Regions from separate parts of the Homo sapiens genome. Here region 1 is linked to region 2. The links are contacts of gene promoters, found by promoter capture Hi-C in human tissues and cell types (Jung and others, 2019). All regions are on one chromosome and are shown on one strand. The core of a region is centred on a gene start or on the middle of the fragment in contact, and the rest is flanking DNA. Distances in the headings are between cores, read along the strand shown.

Region 1 (5,520 bases), core at 1,148-3,647, 590 kb after region 2:
TCTATGGGGAGTCCAGGAGTCCAGGAGGCTGTGCTGTGCCGTATGTATCTGGGAAGGTGGATGTGAGTGTGTGTGTGTGTGTGTGTGTGTGTGTGTGTGTGTGTGTGTGTGTATTGGGAAGTGGGGGGGGGGCATTTATGCCAAGTGCCTCCAGGGAACATCTAACAAACCAAGTCTGTTCCTCTCTTACCCTGAAACCCAGACACAGAGTTTGGGCCTGGAAATAAAAGAACTTTGAGGCTTTTTTGCTAACATCGATCTGTTTATGATCTAAGCCTCATTCTATTTCTAGCATATAATAAAATATCTTAGTTTTCCAGGTGCTTTACATCCTTGACCTCACTTCATACTTTCAACAACCTCATGAGCTGGGCAGAGATTTTTATGTTCCCCAATGTACATATGGGAAAACTGATGCTCAGAGAGGTTAAGTGATTTGTCCAAGGACTCATCACTAGAAAGTAGTAGAGGCAGGATGCAAAACAGGTTTCTTTGAGGAAGAATTGGAGACTTCTTTCCTTCCCTTCCTTTCCTTCCCTCTCTTCCCTCCCTTCCTTTCTTCCTTCCTTCCTCTTTCTTTCTTTTCTCTCTCTCTCTTTCTTTCTTTCTTTCTTTCTTTCTGTCTCTCTCTCTCTCTCTTTCTTTTTTGATGCAATCTCACTCTGTTGCCAGGCTGATGTGCAGTGGCACAATCTTGGCTCACTGGCTCACTGCAACCTCCGACTCATTGGTTCAAGCTATTCTCTTGCCTCAGCCTCCTGAGTAGCTGGGGTAACAGGCACATGACAACTCGCCCAGTTAATTTTTGTATTATTAGTAGAGATGGGGTTTCACCATGTCGGCCAGGATGGACTTAATCTCCGGACTTTGTGATCTATCCACCTTGGCCTCCCAAAGAGCTGGGATTACAGGCGTGAGCCACCACTCCCGGCTGAGACTATTCTTATCATACCACCTGCCCTACCGGAAACAGACTCAGAGAGAAGATTCTGCAAACAGTCTGTAAGACTGTGGTTTCAGTGGTAATGCCCAGCCAGGCGGCACCAAGCCCTGTCCCCAGCCCTAGACAGCACTTGTTGAAACAGGAACTGAGGCCCCTCTCAGGGAACTTGGGGAGTAGAATCAGGCTGTTCTGGATGACTGGAGGGTAGAGTTGAAGCTGGCTTGTCTGAGAGGAATGATTTGGCCACCTTCTGAGCCCTGGGCCCCCAGAGAGCTGAGGAGGAGAGTTAATATCAGAGAGCTACTGTGTGTGTTCGAGTCCAGGGAGCAGCAGTTAGCTTCAGCCAGAGCCTGAAAAAAGAAATAGAGATTATTAGCATTAAGGAAGAGAAGGCTGCAGTGGGACCTCGGCGTGGTCGTTTTGTCATGGGGACTGAGTTGAGCTCCTTCTCCCTGAATACATATTGTGAGCAAATTGACATAGTTTGCATGTGAGAGATTTAGGTTAGATGTCAAGGAGATCTTTCTGTCAGTAAGAGAGTTCAAGCTTTGGAACAGGGCTCAAGGGAGACCAGGGGCTGCCTTTGCTTGAGGACCTCCAAGAATAGGTCAAGATTCTCTGGGCTCTGGGAGCCTCATAGCAAGATGGCGGAGGCGGGGGAGGGGGAGTTGTATGAAATGATCTGGAAGCTTTCTTCCAGGTCAAAAATGCCACATTCCCGAGCTTTTGGGTAGGAATCAAGTTCCTCTAGATTTAGCTATTTGACAGAGTCCAGGACGGGGGTGGGGGGTGGGGGGTGGGGTCTGATCTTATGTGCCGAAGTTAGAAGGAGTTTCTGCAACAACCCCTCGTCATTTTTGGCAGGTCCAAGATGTGGAGGGTGACTTAGGTGTGTGTGAGCAAGGTTCCAGAGGGAAGCACCTGCGGTGAATAAACCGTCTCATTCTAGGCGTTTGGGGTCTATCAAAGCTGGGTGGCTTCCTCCTTCCTAGCAAGTGAACTGCACCCAAATCCCTCCTTGTTTTGTTTCAGCTCCAAGGGAAACGATCGCGGCACATTCCCTTCCCCTCTCCAGATGTTGGCATGCGGGGCACCTTGTGGGCGACCCCGCCTGGACGGCTTCGCGGCTCCCGGGCGATCACCCTGGTGCCTGCCGCCTGGCCCGGGGGAGCCCGGTCTCTAATTAGGCCTGACCGCGTCCCCATTCCAGCGCTCCTGCAGATGGGAGGGAGGGCCATGTTTCCCCCCCCAGGGGCACCGAAATAGCCTCGTAGTCCCGCGGAGACAGCAGGCAGCCGTGGCTGACGCGGGACCAAGGCTTGGCAGGGAGCGCGCTGCTGTGGAAGGTCCTTGGGAGGCTGCGACCGCCTCGGAGAGGGCGGGCGGGGGAGAACGGGGCGGGGGGTGGGGCGGGGGCCAGGGGCGGCCTCTCGGGCTGGGCCGGCAGAGCGGCCACTTTGCGCGCGGCCTCTGGAGCTCCAGCTGCGCCCCGCCACCACTGGCCGCTCGCACTACCAGCCTGTCTCGCACGCTAAGTAAGTAGACAGCTCCCCTAGCTGGATTCAGGGGGCTGGTGATGCCTCTGCTAGCCTAGTTGGGAACAGTGCAGGTTTGTCACTAATTGGATAGTAGGTGTAAGTGTGTCAGTGGGAGTGCTTGTGAAGGGGAGCTTGCGCCAGTGTGAGGGAGTGTGTCTGGATGGGATGTCCACATGTGGAATTTTCTAGCATGTGCCCCAGGGTGCGAGTGTGGGTGAACGAGTGTGTCAGAGTGTGTGGTGGCCTGGAGTGGGCCACAGGTATTTGCCTGTGTGGCACCTGCTGCCCTGGGTGCACTGTGTCTGTACCTGTGGAAATGCCTGTGTGTGTGGCAGGAAGGCCCCCAGGTGGGCTGAGCCAGTCCACATGTGGATGAGTGGATGTGCCAGTGTGAACCCAGGAAGGCAGAAATTGGGGCTAGGGAGTGTTATCTGAACTCAGGCTTTCTAAGGTGACCTGACTTGTCCCAGCTGGGGTGTCTTCTCTGTGGGTCATTCAGCTTTGGTTTCTCAGGGCTTGGAGAAGGACAGAAGCTCAGAGCCCTCACACAACACTGGAGTGAATGTGGCTCTGACTAACCCCATCTGGCTAGACCAGGGTCAGGGAGACAGCTTGGGAGACCCCACTCTTAAACCAGGAGAAGAGACAGGAGGCCAGGGGATGAGTGGACCATATGGCCATGGCCACCCACAAACACTCGCAGTGCACCCACGCTTACATGCTCAGCATACACACATTCCTGTCCATGTGCACCAGTCTTGCACACACTCTTCTCAGGATAGCCATGCAACCATTCACACTTTCAACATGTATACCTGTGGACAACGACATGTATGCAACATGCACCCACTTTGTTCAATGCATATGCGCAAATGTATCCCTGGTGTGGCCCCACCCTCAGCCGCTAGCCTCCTCCCACTTTTGCCCCTTTTAATCTATATATTATACCTCTGACAATGGGTCCAAGAAACTGGCCTCAGTGGGGAATATTTTAAGTCAGGGACTTTGGCTGTGGGGGTCAGGGCAGATGGTGATGTGGTGCCTTTGAGGGGTTCCATTGAATCTGAAACTGAGGCTGTCCATGGAGCTCAGCCAGAGAGCATCTTGTCCCTTTAGCTCTGGGACTTAGAAGCACTGTTCGCCCTTTTAGAAGTGAAAACTTCCAAACACTGCCTTTGGAAGGCAAGCCAGGTCAGGCTGGGATCTGACATGGAGCTCAGCATATATAATTTGCTCCATGCTGTAGTTTATACTCTGGATTACACTTGCTGCAGAGAAGCAGTGACCTTTCTGGGTTGGGTCCCAAGGCAACCATTTGGCAGGGAGGACAGTGAATTGAGCTGGGTTGATTCTTTCTCTTCTTTGGTTTCGTTCAACCCTACTTTGAGTCTCCCTCCCACAGGCTGGTGGAGGGATGGCATTTGCTCTGCTCCTTTCCTTTCTTCCAGTGGTTATCTTTTTTTCTGGACAGAATCTTCTCCATGACCTCCTCCCCCTGGTGACCACTGGGCACACACTATACAGCGCTTGGAAGAGTAGGTGCCCTAAAATACCAGCTGAGTGGTGGTGTTATTCTTCTTAGTAGAGCTTCTAGACCTGTCCCATCCTGGCTATTCTCTTCTGAATACTTCAGTGAGGTACCCAGACTAAATGTGCTCTTTCAGCTGGGAAGTTAGAAAGATGGTATTGAGCTTCCTTCCTTCCCTTCCTTTCTTCCTTCCTTCTCTTTCTCTCTTTTCCTTCCTTCCTTCCTTCCATTCTTTCTTTTTTTCTTCCTTCCTTTCTTTTCTTTTCTTTCTTTTCTTTCTTTCTTTCTTTCTTTCTTTCTTTCTTTCTTTCTTTCTCTCTCTCTCTCTCTCTCTCTCTCTCTCCCCCTCCCTCCCTCCCTCCCTCCCTCCCTCCCTCCCTCCCTCCCTCCTTCCTTCCTTCCTTCCTTCCTTCTTTCCTTCCTTCTTTGATGGAGTCTTGCTCTATCGCCCAGGCTGGAGTGCAGTGGCATGATCTCAGCTCATTGCAACCTCTGCCCCCCGGATTCAAGCGATTCTCCTGCCTCAGCCCCTGAGTAGCTGGGATTATAGACCCCCACCACCATGCCCAGCTAATTTTTGTATTTTTAGTAGAGATGGGGTTTTTCCATGTTGGTCAGGCTGGTCTTGAACTCCTGACCTCAGGTGATCTGCCTGCCTAGGCCTCCGATACTGCTGGGATAACAGGTGTGAGCCACCATGCCTGGCCTGAGTTTCTTCTTTCTTAGTGTTTATGGTTTAGTCTAAGGGGTGACTAAGCTCTCACCCACCAACTCCTCTAATATGCAGGAGAGCAAGTTGGGTTCAACCATTTTTTGAGGGGAATGCTGGGATCTAGCTTCTCTTTGGCCTGATCCTACACCTGACCCTTGGGAATGGTTAAAAAAGGGCAGGCTATGGTCAGTCCAGCAGAATAAAGGTGGCAGGGGAAGGAATTATTTTCCCATTGTGCTTCCCTTGTCACTCTGCTTGCTGGGAAGCTCTTAGTCCATCATATGGCTCTGTTGTAATAACTATGTTAGTTGGAACCATTGCTTTGACTTCTAATTTCTGCTTTATCAACTTTATAGAATACATATTTTTAACTGTAAACTTCCACATCCTTTGTTGAAGGAAATCAGAACAAATAAATGAAAAACCAGCAATTAAGCATTCTATTGGTCTCTGGGGATGGGAATCACACTGGATTTTCCTGGGACATCCTCAATTTCAAATATGTCATCTGGTTTTCAACTCATATGTCTCAATTTGGCTTCTGTACCTTTGAACTCTAATTGGTGACGATGTCTTGGAGGTTTTTTTCCTAGTAGCTCTGGGACATAATGCCCATCTCTGTGCTGGCTCAGACAAGGGGGATAGTTGAGAATGAATTGGGCCATTGATAAACACCCCCTGCTCCGAGTGTTTCAGCTGCCAGCTCTTCCCTGTCTCAAAAGCTCAAGTGTCTGGGTGCCCGAAGGAGTTTGACCCTTGCCCTAAGCCTGGCCCTGGCCCCGCAGCCACCCCTTCCTCA
Region 2 (5,727 bases), core at 2,695-5,194:
CTCAAAGAGCTAGAATTATAGGTAGGAGCCACTGTGCCAGGCCCACCCTTATAATTTATATTCTTTCTTTCCTAATCAAATCACAAATTTACAAGATTAGTTTTAGCTAACTACCTGCCATCCACAACACACATACTCACATAATACCTGAAAGGCTCTGTGTTAGTGGTTTACAGTAGGCAATTTAAAATATTTAAAAATAGGCTGGGTGCAGTGGCTCACACCTATAATCCCAGCACTTTGGGAGGCTGAGGTGGGCAGATTACCTGAGGTCAGGAGTTCAAGACTAGCCTGGCCAACATGGCGAAACCCCGTCTCTACTAAAAATACAAAAATTAGCCAGGCGTGGTGGCGGGTGCCTGTAATCCCAGCTACTCGGGAGGCTGAGGCAGGAGAATCGCTTGAACCTGGGAGGTAGAGGTTGCAGTGAGCTGAGATCACACCACTGCACTCCAGCCTGGGTGAGAGTGAGACTCCATCTCAAAAAAATAAATAAATAACATTTAAAAATAGCCTTGATAAAGAAAACACTGGAAAAAATTCAGTGTTTAGGTATTTAGCCAAATCTCAGATACTAAGTGGTGAAGGTGAGAACTCAATATGTGCAATTTCAAAGCCCTATCTCTTCATTTATGTATTGCCTTTTAACCATAAATAATCTGTCTCTTCTAGACTCTCACAGAAATTTTTCTGTTATATTATAGATAAACTACATTTGAGTTTATAGATAAACTTGCCTTCAAGTTCCCTTAAGACAAGATCCATGTCTGAGTCACTTATGTATACCCTGCAGTATCCAGTATTGAGCATTGCAAAAAATAAATGTCTAATAAATACTGATGTATTGAAGAAAACAAGCACAAAGAAAACAAGTGTGGTTCAGCTTGTCCTTAGAAACCAGACAAAAGTATCACGTTCTTCTTAGACATAACAGGGTCTCAAACGATATACATTGTATTAACAAACATCACATTACTCAGTGACTTCTGAAAAGTGCTAATGTTTAATCTTATTAGTTACTCCTACAGGGATCAAAAAATGGAAAATTTAATAACAAACTCAAAACCACCAAGGTATTCATAATCTTAATTTACAAGAACTTTGGCAGACAACTTCCTAAAATACCTTATCTGGATCTTTTTGAGAAAACTAATCAATTATGAAACAAAAAGGATGTTTATTTTTCATGATTATACTTACCATAACAGTCTAGCATCAGCAGTAAGCCCCGCAATTGAGATACCAATATGGTTGTCAACATGGAGAATTTTTTTCTGATGAGCTGCAAGCTCTGATTGCGCCCTCTAAATAGAGACATTATAAGATGTAAAAAAAAAAAAAAAAGAGACAAATGTAAAAATAAGTTTACAACCTTATTTTCTATGGTGAAATTTACATTGTTTTCTACAGAGGAAGACATATTTATTACTGTACTTACTTTCAATGCAACCAAAACTGCATGAGTTTTTGATTTCAGACCAACTGTGGCTGAACCTTGTTTAACAGCTTCCATTGCATATTCAATTTGATGAATCCTGCCCTAAAGAAAAAAAAAACAAAAAACACACATCTTAGAAGATCTTTTATAAATTAAAAATTAGGGTTTTCAAATATCAGGTGAGCACAGTTAAATCTCAACTGATTTTTTTTTTAATCAAGAGACCTTTTTTTTTTTTTGAGACAGGTTCTCACTCTGTCACCCAGGCTGGAGTGCAGTGGCACAATCTTCAGCTCAGTACAACCTCTGCCTCCTAGGCTCAAGCAGTCCTCTCACCTCACTGTCCACAGTAGCTGGGACTATAGGCAAGCACCACCACGCCCAGCTAATTTTTGTATTTCTTGTAGAGTCCGGGTTTCATGTTGTTCAGGGTGGTCTTGAACTCCAAGACTCAAGCAATCTACCTTCCTTGGCCTCCCAAAGTGCTGGGATTACAGGCATGAGCCACTGCACCCGGCTGAAAGCTTCTTTTAAAATAAATTTTCTTGTGTATATTTAACGTATGCAACATGATGTTATAAGATACACATATATAGTAGGGTCACTATCGCAGAATGAACACATCCGTTGTCTCACATAGTTACCCATTTTCCTCTGCTGTGGCAAGGGCTATAAACTACTCATTTAACAAAAATCTTGAATACAAAACACTACCTGCATTATTAACTGTAGTCTTCATGTTGTACATTAGATCTTTCCACTTGCTCAACCTACATATTTGCTACTTTGTATCTCCTCTTTTTTCCTCCCCACTGCCACCCCCTACCCTGGTAACCACTGTTTTACTCTCTCTATATATATATTTGCCCTTTTAAACAAAAGATTCCACATATAAGTGAGAGCATGAAACATTTTTCTTTCTGTTTCTGGCTTATTTCACTTAACATAATGTCCTCTAGGTCCATCAGGAAACCTATTTTAATTATAAATGCAACTTCCAAGAACGTCTAAAATAATTATATTCCATTTTCCCCAAGCCTACGCTCTCACAAGTTTCTAAATATATTGCAGCCACAAAAAGCCACTTCACAGAAAAGGTTTAAAAACATTATTTTACCTGGGGGCTCCAAACAGTGACATCATTGTCATACTGATTTCGAAACTAAAAGTAAAAGAAAAAAATACCTGTTAATAGAAGAACATTTCAAATCCCAACTCTTAACATTCATTAAGAAATATGCTTGTATTTCCATTCAATGTTAAGGCACTCTGTTCATGCAGTCTTACTGGAAGATTACTACTGTACTCAGATGTAAGCCAATTCTACATTTACCATAAACTCGTGGGAGAGGGAGAAGCAGATCTAAATGGGTCCTATTTTTCCAAACTCTTATTCTAACACCCTCCATATCAACCCCTTTAGGCTCAATTACTAAAGTTCACAATCAACTTTCTTGCCTATTTTTGCTTATGCTGCTCCCTTTTATTGGGCCCTAATAAATGGTTAAAAGTCTTCCTTTTCTTTAAGGTAGCTTAAATGTCGATTTCTTGAAGTCTTCTCCTTTTCTTCCCAAATCCCCCTAACATATACTCCCACAGCTCTTTATCTAAACGTCCCTTTCTGTTTTTATGATTAGGGACATGTATGACTTATTTTTTAATGTTCACTGTAGTTATGCCTGTACAAGTGCTGTCTGTATATTCACATTGAATGAACAAAAATGTCCTCACAAAGTTAGAGGTGGACACAAATAGCTGCAGCGATAGAACCATTACGGCTATTACGACTATTATAATAATAGTCATGGGAGTGAGATTGAGTGCTAGAATGGCAGACAGAACTGGAAACCCAGAACCCTATATTGTAACCCTGATTCCATCACTTCCCCTCTCAGCCTCGGCTTACTCATCCGCAACTAGGTGACTGGACAAAATGATTGAAAAGGGCCTCTTCTAATCGAAGTCTAGGCGAGAGATAAATAGACGGACCCACCAGGAAAACGGACGCTGTCCAGGAACACAAACCTGGGGGTCAAGTCCGCACTGGTGGTACAGGTAGGCCTCCAAGTCAAGTCTCTGTCTTCTCCTCTCCCATACACAGCACTAGGAGCTATTCTGGACCGCTCAGAATCTACTCCACTGAAGGAACCTGAGGGGCGAACTCATCTAGCTGACCGAGGAGGAAGTGTCGGAGGCTCCCCGGGAAGCGAAAGCGGTGGAAAGGCCGCACTGGCTACCGATAACCCCTAGCCCGGCCAGGCCGGAGATGCTGAATCACTGCCGGAGCCCGGCCGTCTGCCGAGGCTCTCATACCTCGTGGCACCGGGCGACGCTAAGGATGACAGGAGAGGTGGCTCGTCATCCCCCAGTCACCAGAGCTCTGCCCTAAACCTTCCAGAGATCGGGATTCAACGTACCATGGTGGCGGCGCGGGCCTGGTTGCGGCCTCCAGCAAAACTGAGAATCAAGGAGGTGCTGCCGAAAGTATCGCTCAGCGATCTACAGAGAAGTCTGCGGGAGTTTGACGGCGGCGGCGCAGGGTAGCGCAGTCTATTCCAGAGATATCGATAGGCTTGCAACACTTCCCCCTCCTTAAAACTTTCCGACCGCTCGGCGGCGGGCGGAGCCTCGGAAGATCTAGGAACTGAGACTGGCGGGAAAACCTGGCTGGGAGTGCCGGCGGCTGAGAGCTGCGGGGCAGCCCCTGTCACGTAGCCCTTCTAGGTTCCTGTGTATGGCGGATTCCCTCCAGTTTCTCCCGCTGGCGGGCTGCATCTAAAGTCGTCCGAGTCAACAGCCGTGACTCTGGGTGATACTAGCTCTCATTAACCGTCCACAGATTTGGGGTGTTATGTGACTGAAAGGAACGAGGCTGCAGGAAAGCCACAAGATAACGATCCGTTTCTGTGTGTCAGCTGTATTCTTCCTCGAGTATCTTGTTTGTGTACATGCTTTTATTTGCATTAAGGTTGGTGCAAAAGTAACTGCGGTTTTTGCCATTTGGCAAAATACTTTGGAATGCTCTTCCTTATTCCCTGGAGATGTTATCTTTCAAGGGTCTGTTGTCGTTAACCCCTCATTGTTATTATGATTGATTTCTTCCACCAGACTTTGAACTCCATGAGGGCGCTAATGTCTTTCTATGCCCCCAAAACCAAGCATGGTACCTGACAGATTAGGCCACTGAGAAAAAATGGACACTTTCTTTCGATTTATCTATTTCGTCTTTTGAGAGCATCTTTCCATAACGAAATAGTCTGACATCCACCGGCTATTTATATTCTTTGTAAAAAAGAGACTGGGTGTGGTGGCTCACGCCTGTAATCCCAGCGCTATTGGAGGCCGAGGGCGGAGGATCGCTTGAACCCAGGAGTTTGAGATCACTATATTATTTTAATACAGTGGGACCTCGTCGCTACAATAATAATAAGAATAAGAATAAGAATAAGAATAATAAAAAAAAAAGGCTGGGCATGTTGGCATGGGCCTGTGGTCCCAGCCACTCGGGAAGCTGATGTGGGAGGATCTCTTGAGCCAGGGAGATCGAGGTTGCAGTGAGCCATGGTCGCGCCGTTGCACTCCAGCCCGCCTGGGCAATAGAGATTCTGTTTCAAAAAAAAAAAAAGCCGGGCGCGGTGGCTCACGCTTGTAATCCCAACACTTTGGAAGGCAGAGGCGGGTGGATCACGAGGTCAGGAGATCGGACCATCCTGGCCAACATGGTAAAACCCCGTCTCTACTAAAAATACAAAAATTAGCCGGGCGTGGTGGCGTGCCTCAGGAGGCTGAGGCAGGAGAATCGCTTGAACCCGGGAGGCGGAGGTTGCAGTGAGCTGAGATCGTGCCACTGCACTCCAGCCTGGGCGACAGAGTGCGACTCCATCTCAAAAAAAAAAAAACAAAAAACAAAGTACTAAATTGTTCTCCAGAAATGTTTTACCAACATATACTCTCAACAGTAGTATATGAGGTTACCTTCTCTAATTCATCAACACTGGTTATTGTCGTATTTCTGAAAAACACTGTTGATTTGGTGGACTAAATTAACAGATTAAATTAATAGATTGTTCTCTTTCGTTTCTCCAGGACCTAGCACAATGCGTAGCACATATTAAGTGTTTATAAATAGTGCTAACTGATTAAATAAATGCTCATTTAAAAATTGTCATATACTACATAAACATTTTGAAAATTCTTTCCATATATATCTCTCTAGTCACATGCCTCACACAGATGTGTAATAAATATACAATTTTTAAAAATAAGATGATACTGTTTTTATTAATACA

What was found. Contacts are between HindIII fragments. The study calls those that stand out against the background at their distance.
Region 1: the fragment with the promoter of INSC here is called in contact with the fragment with the promoter of PSMA1 in region 2 in 1 of the 25 tissues and cell types used here (stomach).

What each region holds. Positions count from the first base shown.
Region 1 is chr11:15,112,526-15,118,045 of GRCh38, forward strand. It overlaps INSC (INSC spindle orientation adaptor protein), which reads left to right and starts at 2,398. Exons shown (of 13, transcript NM_001042536.3): 1 at 2,398-2,478. RefSeq lists enhancers at 871-920, 1,572-2,105. The HindIII fragment of the contact is 4,237 bases long and covers 1-3,758 here.
Region 2 is chr11:14,516,442-14,522,168 of GRCh38, forward strand. PSMA1 (proteasome 20S subunit alpha 1) reads right to left here and starts at 3,945. Exons shown (of 10, transcript NM_002786.4): 1 at 3,856-3,945; 2 at 2,556-2,600; 3 at 1,439-1,540; 4 at 1,201-1,304. The coding sequence starts at 3,858. RefSeq lists enhancers at 3,738-4,352, 3,887-4,076. The HindIII fragment of the contact is 15,381 bases long and covers 980-5,727 here.